3 separate regions of the Homo sapiens genome follow, and regions 1 and 3 are each linked to region 2. Evidence: promoter capture Hi-C in 16 types of primary human blood cells and fetal thymus (Javierre and others, 2016). All regions are on one chromosome and are shown on one strand. The core of a region is centred on a gene start or on the middle of the fragment in contact, and the rest is flanking DNA. Distances in the headings are between cores, read along the strand shown.

Region 1 (3,246 bases), core at 511-3,010, 530 kb after region 2:
CTTTGGGGTGAAATGGCCTGATGACAGGGATTTTAAGAAATATTCACAAAAAAAGAAGGCTGACCAAAAGGAAGACATGAAGCAACTGGAGCAAAAAGTGAATAATTGTTGAATCCAAGGATGGGTGTATTGAGTTTTTTTATATTATTCTCTTTTCTTTTGTGTACTTTTGAAAACTTTCTTAATAAAAAAGTTAAGGAAGAATGTTGGACTGCATCAAGTCTCTTGTCTCTGCTTTTATGTGAAATTCAGCTCATGATTAATCCATCCCAAGAGCTGTGTACAAAGCAATATTTTCCATCTTTGAAGACAATTTAGAAGTCCTTGACAGGAGGTCACTCTGAGCCCAGTGGATCTACGTGCATTTCCTTTTATTGGAAAGAGCGGAAGAGCAGTGGCTTCAAGGAAGTTTTACTCCATTTCTTTTTTCTTTCTTTTTTTTTTTTTTTTTTTGAGACTGAGTCTTGCTCTGTCACCAGGCTGGAGTGCAGTGGTGCTATCTTGACTCACTGTAACCTCTGCCTCCCGGGTTCAACCAATTTTCCTGCCTCAGCCTCCCGAGTAGCTGGGACTACAAGCATGCGCCACCACGCCCAGCTAATTTTTTTTGTATTTTTAGTAGAGACGGGGTATCACCATGTAGACCAGGATGGTCTGAATCTCTTGACCTCATGATCCACCAGCCTCGGCTTCCCAAAGTGCTAGGATTACAGGCGTGAGCCATTTCTTAAAGCAGATGTGTCTGAGCTGGGGGATGAGGGTCTCTCATCCCAGCCCAGACCCTCATCCAGGACCCCCGCTTCCCCCGTACTAAAGGCGCAGCTAGGACTGCAGCTTGCTGAACAGTGTACTGCAATGGACCCGAGAAGAATGCGCACCTTTGTGCTCCTGGTTTGGAATCAAGTATATGCAGTAGTGGCCTTCGATGGTGAGGATTACAGATTTTTTTCATGAGGAACACATATTATATCTCTGAAAGAATCAGTAATAAGGAAATTAGGACAATAAGGAGCAGATCATTTTGGACCCACTATTTACCAGCTCTGTAGCCTTGAGAAAGTTACGAGGTCTCTTGAGGTCTCATTTCATCATCTGTAAAATTATTTAACCTACTCGATTGGGTTGCTGTGACAAATTTAATGAGATAACATGTATAGTCTTGATCTCATCGCAAGCTATAAGAAGTGATACACAAATGTCAGTTGCATTTTTCCTGAGCTGGACTTCCTAGTATTCTCTCCTATTTCATAGGTGGCTTTTTAAGCTTATCTTACCTCTGAGCTTCACATTTGTTTGGTGCTGAATTAGAATTTCCATGTGGTGGTCCCTGAATTTTACTGCTCCCCCAGCACCCTGTCTTTTTCTCTCATGCTGAAAGTAGCCTTTTAACATTTGCCTTTTAACCTGGGTCTTCCTTCTTTTTGCCTGGAATGGTTGTTTTTTTGTTTGTTTGTTTTTGAGATGGAGTCCCACTGCAAACTCTGCCTCCCGAGTTCAAGTGATTTTCCCTCCTCAGACTCCTGAGTAGTTGGGATTACAGACGCCCACCACCAGGCCCAGCTAATTTTTGAATTTTTAGTAGAGATAGGATTTCACCATGTTGACCAGGCTGATCTTGAACTCCTGATCTCAAGTGATCTGCCCGCCTTGGTCTCCCAAAGTGCTGAGACTACAGGCATGAGCCACTACACCCAGCCTTCTGCCTGGGATGTGGATGTGATTCCCAGAAGTGCAGCTGCCATCTTGCCACCATGAGGTAACCTAAGGGTGTCAGAGCAGAAGGATAAAAGGAGCTTACGTCCTTCATGGCAGTGTGGGACTATACTAGAGCTTGACTACTCACCAAATCTCACCTTGAAAGAACACACACTTTAAAATTTAAAACTCCAATTGTCTCTAAAATAAGAAAGAAAGAAAGAAAATAGGTTCAGGTGAGGAAGTATGGCAGAATGTTGATAATGATGAATCTGGGGAATGGACATATTGGTTCACTATACTTTTCTCTTTAATTCTGTGTGTGTGTGTTTGAAATTTTTCATGACAAAAATTTAAAAGAAAATTGAACTTCACCAAATTTCTTATCTTGATTATTATGTGAAGCTCCAGGTTCTAATCAAGCTCTTCCAAGGGCAGAGGACAATGATTTTCCTGTTGGCCAACTTTTCATTGGCTGCATCCCAATACCCCAGGCTTGCCTCAATATTCCTGCTGTGCTGCTGCCCCCTGCTGGCCTCTGCCATTTTGTGTGCCTGAAGATAAGCTTCCCCCCATGTCAGAGGGCTGTGAGCTCCCTCCACTGAAGAAGGTTTTTAAAGATTAGACTCTTGATTTTAGATGATGTTTAATAAATGAATGTCCCTTCTATTCCCAAATTCTTAATGCCTGATTTTTAAAAAGCATGATGGGCATGTGGGGAGATACAAGAGACACAGAAGCCTCTGCCTTTGCGGTTCATTTTGTAGGAATGAGGATTCATAAAATGTACCACCCCCCATTCTGTCTCAACTGATGCCCCATCCCTCCTTCCATTTTCATCCTTCCAATTTCTTCATTCTCTGTTTGATGGACATGTTATAGGAAATATGTTTCAGAAATACCATCTTTTTAGTTTTTATTTAATCTTAGATTTCCTGAGTGTGATGCTGGAGAAATATTTGTAAACAAAATACCTACTTCAGATGGACCAGAAGAGAGAAAGGACTGGTACAGGTTGCTGAAGACAACCTTGACTGTGTTTTTAAGGTGTGCCCACGTCTGCTAACCCCAGGGAACTATTGAACACAACATATTTGACTGGTTTGCTGATTTCCAGAACAGCCAATAGTAGTGTAACTGAGCAGAGAAACAATGCTGTTAGAAGGGGCACGGTGAGAGTGAGATCGGCCCTTCGGTTTGCGTGGGAGCTGGGTGAAGCTGGTGACTGCTGGCTTTCCCCCGCTTCCCTGACAACCTGCATGACTCAGCAGAGGCAGCCATAATCCTGCTAGGTACACTACTCTATTGACCTTGCAACATCACCCCCATACCCCACAGCAGCCACAGCAAGACCTGCCCAAGGAGAGTCTGATCTCAGACATGCTTAGCCCTGCCCCGACCTGATGGGCCTTTCCTATGCACCCTGGTAGCTGAAGACAAAGGGCATATACTCTTGGGAGTTTTAAGGCCCCGCCCACTGCCATTTTCTCTCAATACTACCACAGCTGATGCTTTCTGGAAAGCACCACCTCCTGGCAGTAGGCCAACCAG
Region 2 (3,233 bases), core at 48-2,547:
TAATACACAAACTTTCATTGACAGGATTTAAACTTGCAAGTGACTTACAAGTTTTGACTGCCTAGTCCTCATATGCTTAGGTTATGCTTTAGGTTTCTAGTTCTGTGGGACTGAGTTAAATAATGGTTTCCCCATGTTCATGGATAGGAATTTTAAAAATTGAGATATAATCCACATACAATGGTATCTATTTTTACTCATTCATTTTGAAATCTAAAGTTTAACTTCTATTCATAATATCCATTTTACTTAGGCAGTGAGTATATAATAACCCTCACCTCAGAAAAGTTTCTACAGTTAAAAGACACGGGCTGAGGAGAGTTCATCTTCATCCTTACTAGCATTTTGGAGTACGTATAAAGGCGTCTGCGGATGCCTAATGATTAAAAAAAAAGTTCCCCTCACCATGGTGAATAGGGTTTTTACGAGAAAAATATGGAGAAAGCAGAGATTATTACCATTGAAAAAGACAAGGTGTTAACAGAAATGGGAGGGTAGCTTGATAGAGTCCAAACTTGACTGAACTCTCTAGGTTAGGGCCAAAGGCAAGTACTGAGGACAGGCATGGACTGTTGCGTTCAACTTGTCAAAAAAGTGGCCAATATGTAGTATGGACCAAGCCTATAGAGGCGCTGAGAATACAGAGATGAATGAGCCAGTTCCTGAAGGAGCCCAGTCTGCGTGTGTTTGCGAGTTGAGAAGAGGAGGAGGGAGGCAGCATGGGGAGTGTGGGGATGGAGGAATTAGATTGAAAGAGAAGGCCGAAAAACTGAATATATAGTAGAAATTTGGGGTGCAGATATGTGCTGCCTAGAAAGGCAGAAACCTGTCCCAGAACCTCTTAATACATTAGTCTCATTTGCCAAATTTGGCCAGATATCATGACTGTGGTCCTCTCGAGATGCCCTCTTGAATCGGCTTAAAAATTATCCTTCCGCAACCACCCCTAGCTTTCCCCACCGCCAGTGCGCCGGGCAGGTTGAAAACTGCACCCACGTTTGCAGCCTCTGCTCTCCGCAGGAGACAGGAATCCAGGGCTTTGCCGTCGTCATAGCAACCAGAAGTTCCGCGGTCCCCTACCCTCCCGCGACTTTTTCCACTTCCTCCGCCTGCAGGGCCCAGCCGCCGCTTCTCTCGCGAGACTTGTGCGCCGCGCTAAGCCGCTCCGTGGTGATCTCACCCGAGACTTGGGGGAGAGGGAGGAGTGAAGGAGGGGAAGGAATGGGGCGGGAGGCGGGGCGGGGAGGGGAAGGGCGAGTGAGGCGCCGCCACTGCCGGCAACTTTGTGAGCGAGTTCAGTGCGTGCGTGAGCGAGTGAGCGAAAAGTCAGTGCAGCGCCGAGTCCCCGGCTGGAGGGTCCCCGGGGAGGGCCAGGTCTGGGCCCCAGAGGCCGCCCCCGCAGCCACTCCATTCCCTCCCGCCTCTGTGGCTCCCTCCCCATTTCCTCCCCCACCGGTCGTTGGGGCCTTCCCGCCCCCGTCCGCACTTACCTGTCCCCTCCCCCATGCGGTACGCACCTCCTCATCCCCCCCCCGGCAACCTCGCGCCCACCTTGGACCTTCGGAGCCCGGACCCCCGCACTTGCTTCCCGTACTGGCCGCCCCCTCAGTTCTTTCTGCTGGCGGGCGGGATGGGGGCGCTGAGCCTCGGGGACGGCGCGAGCGGGGGCCCGGGCGCCTAGACAATAGTTGATGCCCAAGGACGGGGCCACCTCCGCCTTCCCCTCCTCCGGGAGCTCGGCCCCCGCCGGCCCCCCGCCAGCCTGTATTCCGGGTCCCCCTCGGAGCCAGCCTCGGGAATTGGGCTGATTCCACCCCCGCCTCCCTCGGGCCCCCCTCCGCTCCGCGCTCGGCGCCCGCCTCGGGCCGGCCTCGCCGCTCTCCGCAGAGGAGGCGGCGAGTGAGCGCGCGCCGGCCGTCTACACGGTTTCTCTTTCTCCCCAGGGAGAGCGCGCGGCGGACGCGCCCGGGACGCGCGGCGGCACCGGGAGGCCGGGCCGAGCGGTAAGTGGTCCCCGCGCCCGGGTCCTGGGGGGAGCGGGGGTGCAGGACGGCTGACAGCCCCCTGCCCTGTTTCTGGCCGGGGTTGGGGTCCAGGGCCCGGAGCAGGACCCCAGGAGGCCGGTTAAAGTTTGATTTTCGATTTGGTGGCTTGCTGGTAGCTTAGCCCGGCGGGGGCGAGTCCGGCTTCACCGCGCCCGGCGCGCGCGCACGCACCCCAGAACCCGAATCTGCACAACTACTGGGCAGGCGTCTCTGCGGGAGGCCAGGAGACCCGCGTCCCGGTCCGGGCGGTTGCGTCCACCCCGCTGAGCTGGTCGCCACCTGGCGACCCTTCCCCTCCAGTCACCTGGGTGAGCGCTTTGCAGCCTGAGCTGGAGTAGGCAGGCCGAGTTGGTTGAGTTGTGGGAAATGGAGACGAACAGCTCGGTGCCCGAGGGTGGTTAATTTCCCCTTTGGGGGTCTTGGGGACATGAAATTTTGGGATGCTCTAACCTGCTTTCCGGGGAGCGAGTAAACCGCGAAAGGGCTGGGAAGGCGTGAGGGTGCCGCAAAAAGAACTTTTCCTCCTTCGCCCCATCTGTTACCAGCTTCTCTCCTGACCTTAAAGGAAATTTCCGAGGCTCTTAAATCGCTCCACGGCATTTCTAGGTGGACCAGTAATCGTGTTGGGCAGGTTGAAATTTCATCGCGGTTTGGAGAACAGAGAGACATGGGAAATGGCTCACTTCCAAGGAAGATGTTTAGCTAAATTGTTGGCATTCGTTTTCTAAGAGAAGCATTTGGGGATTGATGGCTCCTAGACTACGATTACCTTATAGATTTTATTTTTCCTGACGGGTAGTTTAGAGGCAGCATTCGCTGAAATGCATACTACCTGTGAAACGATCATGTTTCTAAACTGGAGCCAGCGATGTGATGCAAATTTCAGAATAAAGGTGTCGACTTTCATCAGGTTCCAGGTCTATCTGGATGGACTGGGATTGGCGTTTCCTCTATAAAGCAAACCTTTCATGTTGAAACTCTGAGTCAGACTCTTAAAGCCATTGTCTTTATGCTGGTACTCTGTGGGAGTTAAGTGTCAACTTTCTCCTGTTTTCTCCTATGGAGTATCCGTCCAAGGCAAAGATTCTCTGACTGAATCTTTTGGAAACGTGCAAGGTTAGATCATACTGAATTCTGCAGCCAGTTTAGTAATAATATTAGTTTTCTATATAATCCTGATTTAACGAC
Region 3 (3,410 bases), core at 375-2,874, 670 kb before region 2:
GGCAGCTAATATCCATTGATCCCAATTGAAGCCTTGGGATAGGGATGTGGCAAGGCCTAGAAGGAAGTCACACTGGGAAATGCCTGGGATGGTGCTGGTTTGAAACAAGCTTTGCTTTTCAGTGCTTGTGGACACGTCTTAAAGCCATGGGATCAGAGCCAGCCACATAATTTGCAGGGCCCAGCATGAAATGAAATGTAGGACTCTTTGTTGAAAAGGCAGGGAGGAAGTGTCGCTAAAGATCCTGAAAGATAAAGCTTTTCTCTTTCTTTTGTTCTCTCTTTCTCTTGACTTGACATGGTGTTTTGCATTTGCTATTTGATGTCATTGCAAATAAAAAATTTTAAAATTTAATTATTAGCATAGATTTTACTATTCTTTATGATGTGTGGTGCCAGTTTTAAATGAACTTATAGGAACACTTTACTTATATGAGGAATTATAAAAATTATACAATTTATACTTCTGTAGCTCATACATGCATATGTATTTATTCTTACTAGAACAGTGGAAATGCTGCACCAAATAAACTAAACTATTTTTATTTCACTTTTTTATATGTGTACTTTATATGCATACTTCATATGTGCACTTTCCACCAGGCTTTCAGATGAGCCAGGAAAGGAAAAGGGAATACACGTGACCCTACCCTTTCCTTCTGTGTCATCATTTTCAGCATGAGTGGTTGGCTAATATGGGAAAGCAACATAGGTAGGAAAGGATATGATAGGGTTCCTAGATTATTTGTGTTTCTGAGAACATTTTTTTTTGTCCATGTTTGAAGCCATTTCTAGTTTGAATGGAAAGAATGGCCCTTTGGGACTGGCAGCATATTCATTTAGTTATGGGCATAATTAAGTCTTGATGAACTCTCACGCATCATGGGGCTCCTAGAATTCTTTGCTCCTGGGGCATTGTGAATGCTATATGCAAATGGGGCAGCAGAGAGTGGTATTGTGCCCATCTCCTCTGTCCCTGCTCATGCTGTGTTGTCCCATCAGACTTCACTTAAACAAAACACAAGTTTAAAGATAAAGTGACTAAGAATTTCAAGAAGGCAATAGCAGAGTATTAAATGAAGTACAGGTTCCTTCTGAGTGTGGGGCTCTATGCAACAGCACAAGTTGCCCACCCTTGAAGCCAGCCCTCAATGGGACACCAGAAGATGGCTGGATGGATACATCTGAGGTGGACAAAATTGGATACAGACTCTAAGGCAGAGTCTAAGAACAAAGGGTATTCAACAGATGTTGGTGTAAAGATGGATGAGTTACAAATTTAAAAACTCAGTGGTGAAAAGGAGGTCAGGGGCTAGAGACAAGCAGTAACCTTGCAATCAGAGGATGAATTCCTAGGGTAAGGATTGGTCAAAAGAAGGGAAAAGAATATAGGCCTCATGTCAAGATGCTCAGCCAAGATCTTGCCATCCCGATGGGAGAGCTTGACTGGCTAAGCTGTTGTTGACCTGGGGCTGTTCCTTAGGTAGCACCTTGACCAATAAATCTTAAGGGTCAAGTAAATGGGGCTTGTAATACCTTCTTCCAAGGAAGAAAGTGAGAATTGAAACTTGCAGAATGCTTTCAAGGAAGGTACTGGGAAGAACATTACAAATTTAGACACTGGGCTGAGTTCCTAAAGTGGATTTGGAAGCTCCTTAGTCCACCTCCAAGGGAAATAAGTCAGGTGGCTTTTAGCCAGGAACTCTTTAGGACATCTTGAAATCAGAGTCCCTACAGCCAAAATACATGGGAGTGCCCCCTCCAAGGCAAGGAAATTCATCTGCAAAGCAGACAGGAAGGCCAAGATGTGGAGCAGCCAAAAGCAGCTCCCAGAGCTTTCACTGGTTGTGGGTGACCTCCAGATTCACTATAAGGAAATCCTCTCCTCACAGCTGTTCTCTTTCACCACCAGACTGTGCCTACTCCAAACAGCTAGGATGAAAACTGAATGTTTCAATCAACCAACTAGAGATTTCCTAAGCCCCTTTGGGAAGGCAGATGTCCATATTTGGAACAAAATTTTCCGTTTCACCCAGATGATTAGTGTGGCCCAGACACGGAGCAGCAACTCTAAGGTCTAGCTCGGACAATGGTACCAGACTTAAAAAAAACAAAGATAATGCTGCAGGGATTAAAGGAGTTTAGCCTAACTGTGGTATTTATATGGCCTTGGAATTATTTATTACCACTGTAAAGCTCACTATCTTATACAGACGTACAATGTCATATCCCCAGCAAAAGTGTGAAGTGGTACTAACAAGCTCAAGATTTCTGTAAAATCAGAATTTTGATTTTGGATTTGGATATGACCCCAAACCCTATATAGGTACATGGATTCACCTGTCAATACTACCAGCTTGTCATCCCACATGAGCTAGGCATTTCCAATCATAGGGATATTCACCACCATCTGAAGCAAACTTTTTGACAACCACCACCACCAAAACAACTATAATAATAATGGTATCAGTAATGACAGAAAGGATTACCATGATGAGGCCAGCACATAGTAGATGTTCCACAAATGTGTTTGAAATGAATGAAAATGCTTTTCCCAGCATCTGTCTCTTGTTAGGGATCCAATAAATTCAATCATTCCATTAACGTTTATTGAGCACTTATTATACACCAGACTCCAGGCTTGGGGGCTGGGTATATAGCAGTTAATATGAAGGACAAGATCCCCGCCTTACATGAACTTATGTATATATAATTTCATTTGATCTGTACAACTCTGTGAGACAGAAAAGTCAACCTTGGAACAGTTAACATCACTTGCCCATGGTCACATAGTGGTATATGGCAAACTGGGATCTCTCAACCACTGGGTCTGTAATTCCAAAGCCTGCAGTTTTAGCCATTCACCCTACCACCTCCATCTTTAGGGGTTTCTTCCTTAGATAATAAAACTTGTCTCACTGAAATTTCTTTTAATCCATCAATATTCTACTCTTTGAAGCAACACAGAGTATATATCATCTCTGTAGCAAAGACAAGCTTTGACATTTTTAGGGTAACTCTCTTGCCCATCTTCCAGTCTTTCCTTCTGGCAGTTAGACATCCTTTTACTGTGAACGTGCCTTGTGTGATTAGGACTTCCATTCCATGGCCATCCTGGGTGGTTAAGGGGAAAGTGTCCTGTGTTCTGAAACCAGGTCATTGTTTCCCTAGGTCCTGCCATGTCAGTAGGAAGGTGACCTGAATTTGTATGGACAGTGGGGAGTGAGAAGCCCTGTGAGTCATAATTTCTAATGAACATAGAGACTGCAGAATCCCCGCCCATGTCTCTCCTCTTTTCTTCCTCCCTTGCTTTAGGGTGTGTGAATTCCAGTTAAGAGGTCTTGAGAAATCGAAGTAGAAATGTGAAGAGTAGGAGTTCATTTCAGCCATTAAAGAATATACTTGGCTGGG

The links. The method cuts DNA at HindIII sites, captures the fragments that hold promoters and counts their contacts. A CHiCAGO score of 5 or more calls a contact.
Region 1: a fragment that was not itself captured here is called in contact with the fragment with the promoter of SIPA1L1 in region 2 in 3 of 17 cell types (endothelial precursors, fetal thymus and erythroblasts); the score reaches 6.5 in endothelial precursors.
Region 3: a fragment that was not itself captured here is called in contact with the fragment with the promoter of SIPA1L1 in region 2 in 1 of 17 cell types (neutrophils); the score reaches 5.3 in neutrophils.

The regions. Positions count from the first base shown.
Region 1 is chr14:71,853,378-71,856,623 of GRCh38, forward strand. No RefSeq gene overlaps it. Among named protein-coding and RNA genes, the nearest start is that of RGS6, 77 kb to the right of the region's middle. RefSeq lists an enhancer at 2,885-2,954. The HindIII fragment of the contact is 996 bases long and covers 1,263-2,258 here.
Region 2 is chr14:71,319,179-71,322,411 of GRCh38, forward strand. It overlaps SIPA1L1 (signal induced proliferation associated 1 like 1), which reads left to right and starts at 1,298. Exons shown (of 24, transcript NM_001386936.1): 1 at 1,298-1,325; 2 at 1,944-2,003. SIPA1L1-AS1 (SIPA1L1 antisense RNA 1) reads right to left here and starts at 2,670. Exons shown (of 4, transcript NR_184180.1): 1 at 2,496-2,670. RefSeq lists an enhancer at 777-936 and a silencer at 1,197-2,216. The HindIII fragment of the contact is 21,627 bases long and covers 1-3,233 here.
Region 3 is chr14:70,646,741-70,650,150 of GRCh38, forward strand. All of the region lies in intron 1 of TTC9 (tetratricopeptide repeat domain 9), which reads left to right. Among named protein-coding and RNA genes, the nearest start is that of TTC9, 6.5 kb to the left of the region's middle. The HindIII fragment of the contact is 2,739 bases long and covers 256-2,994 here.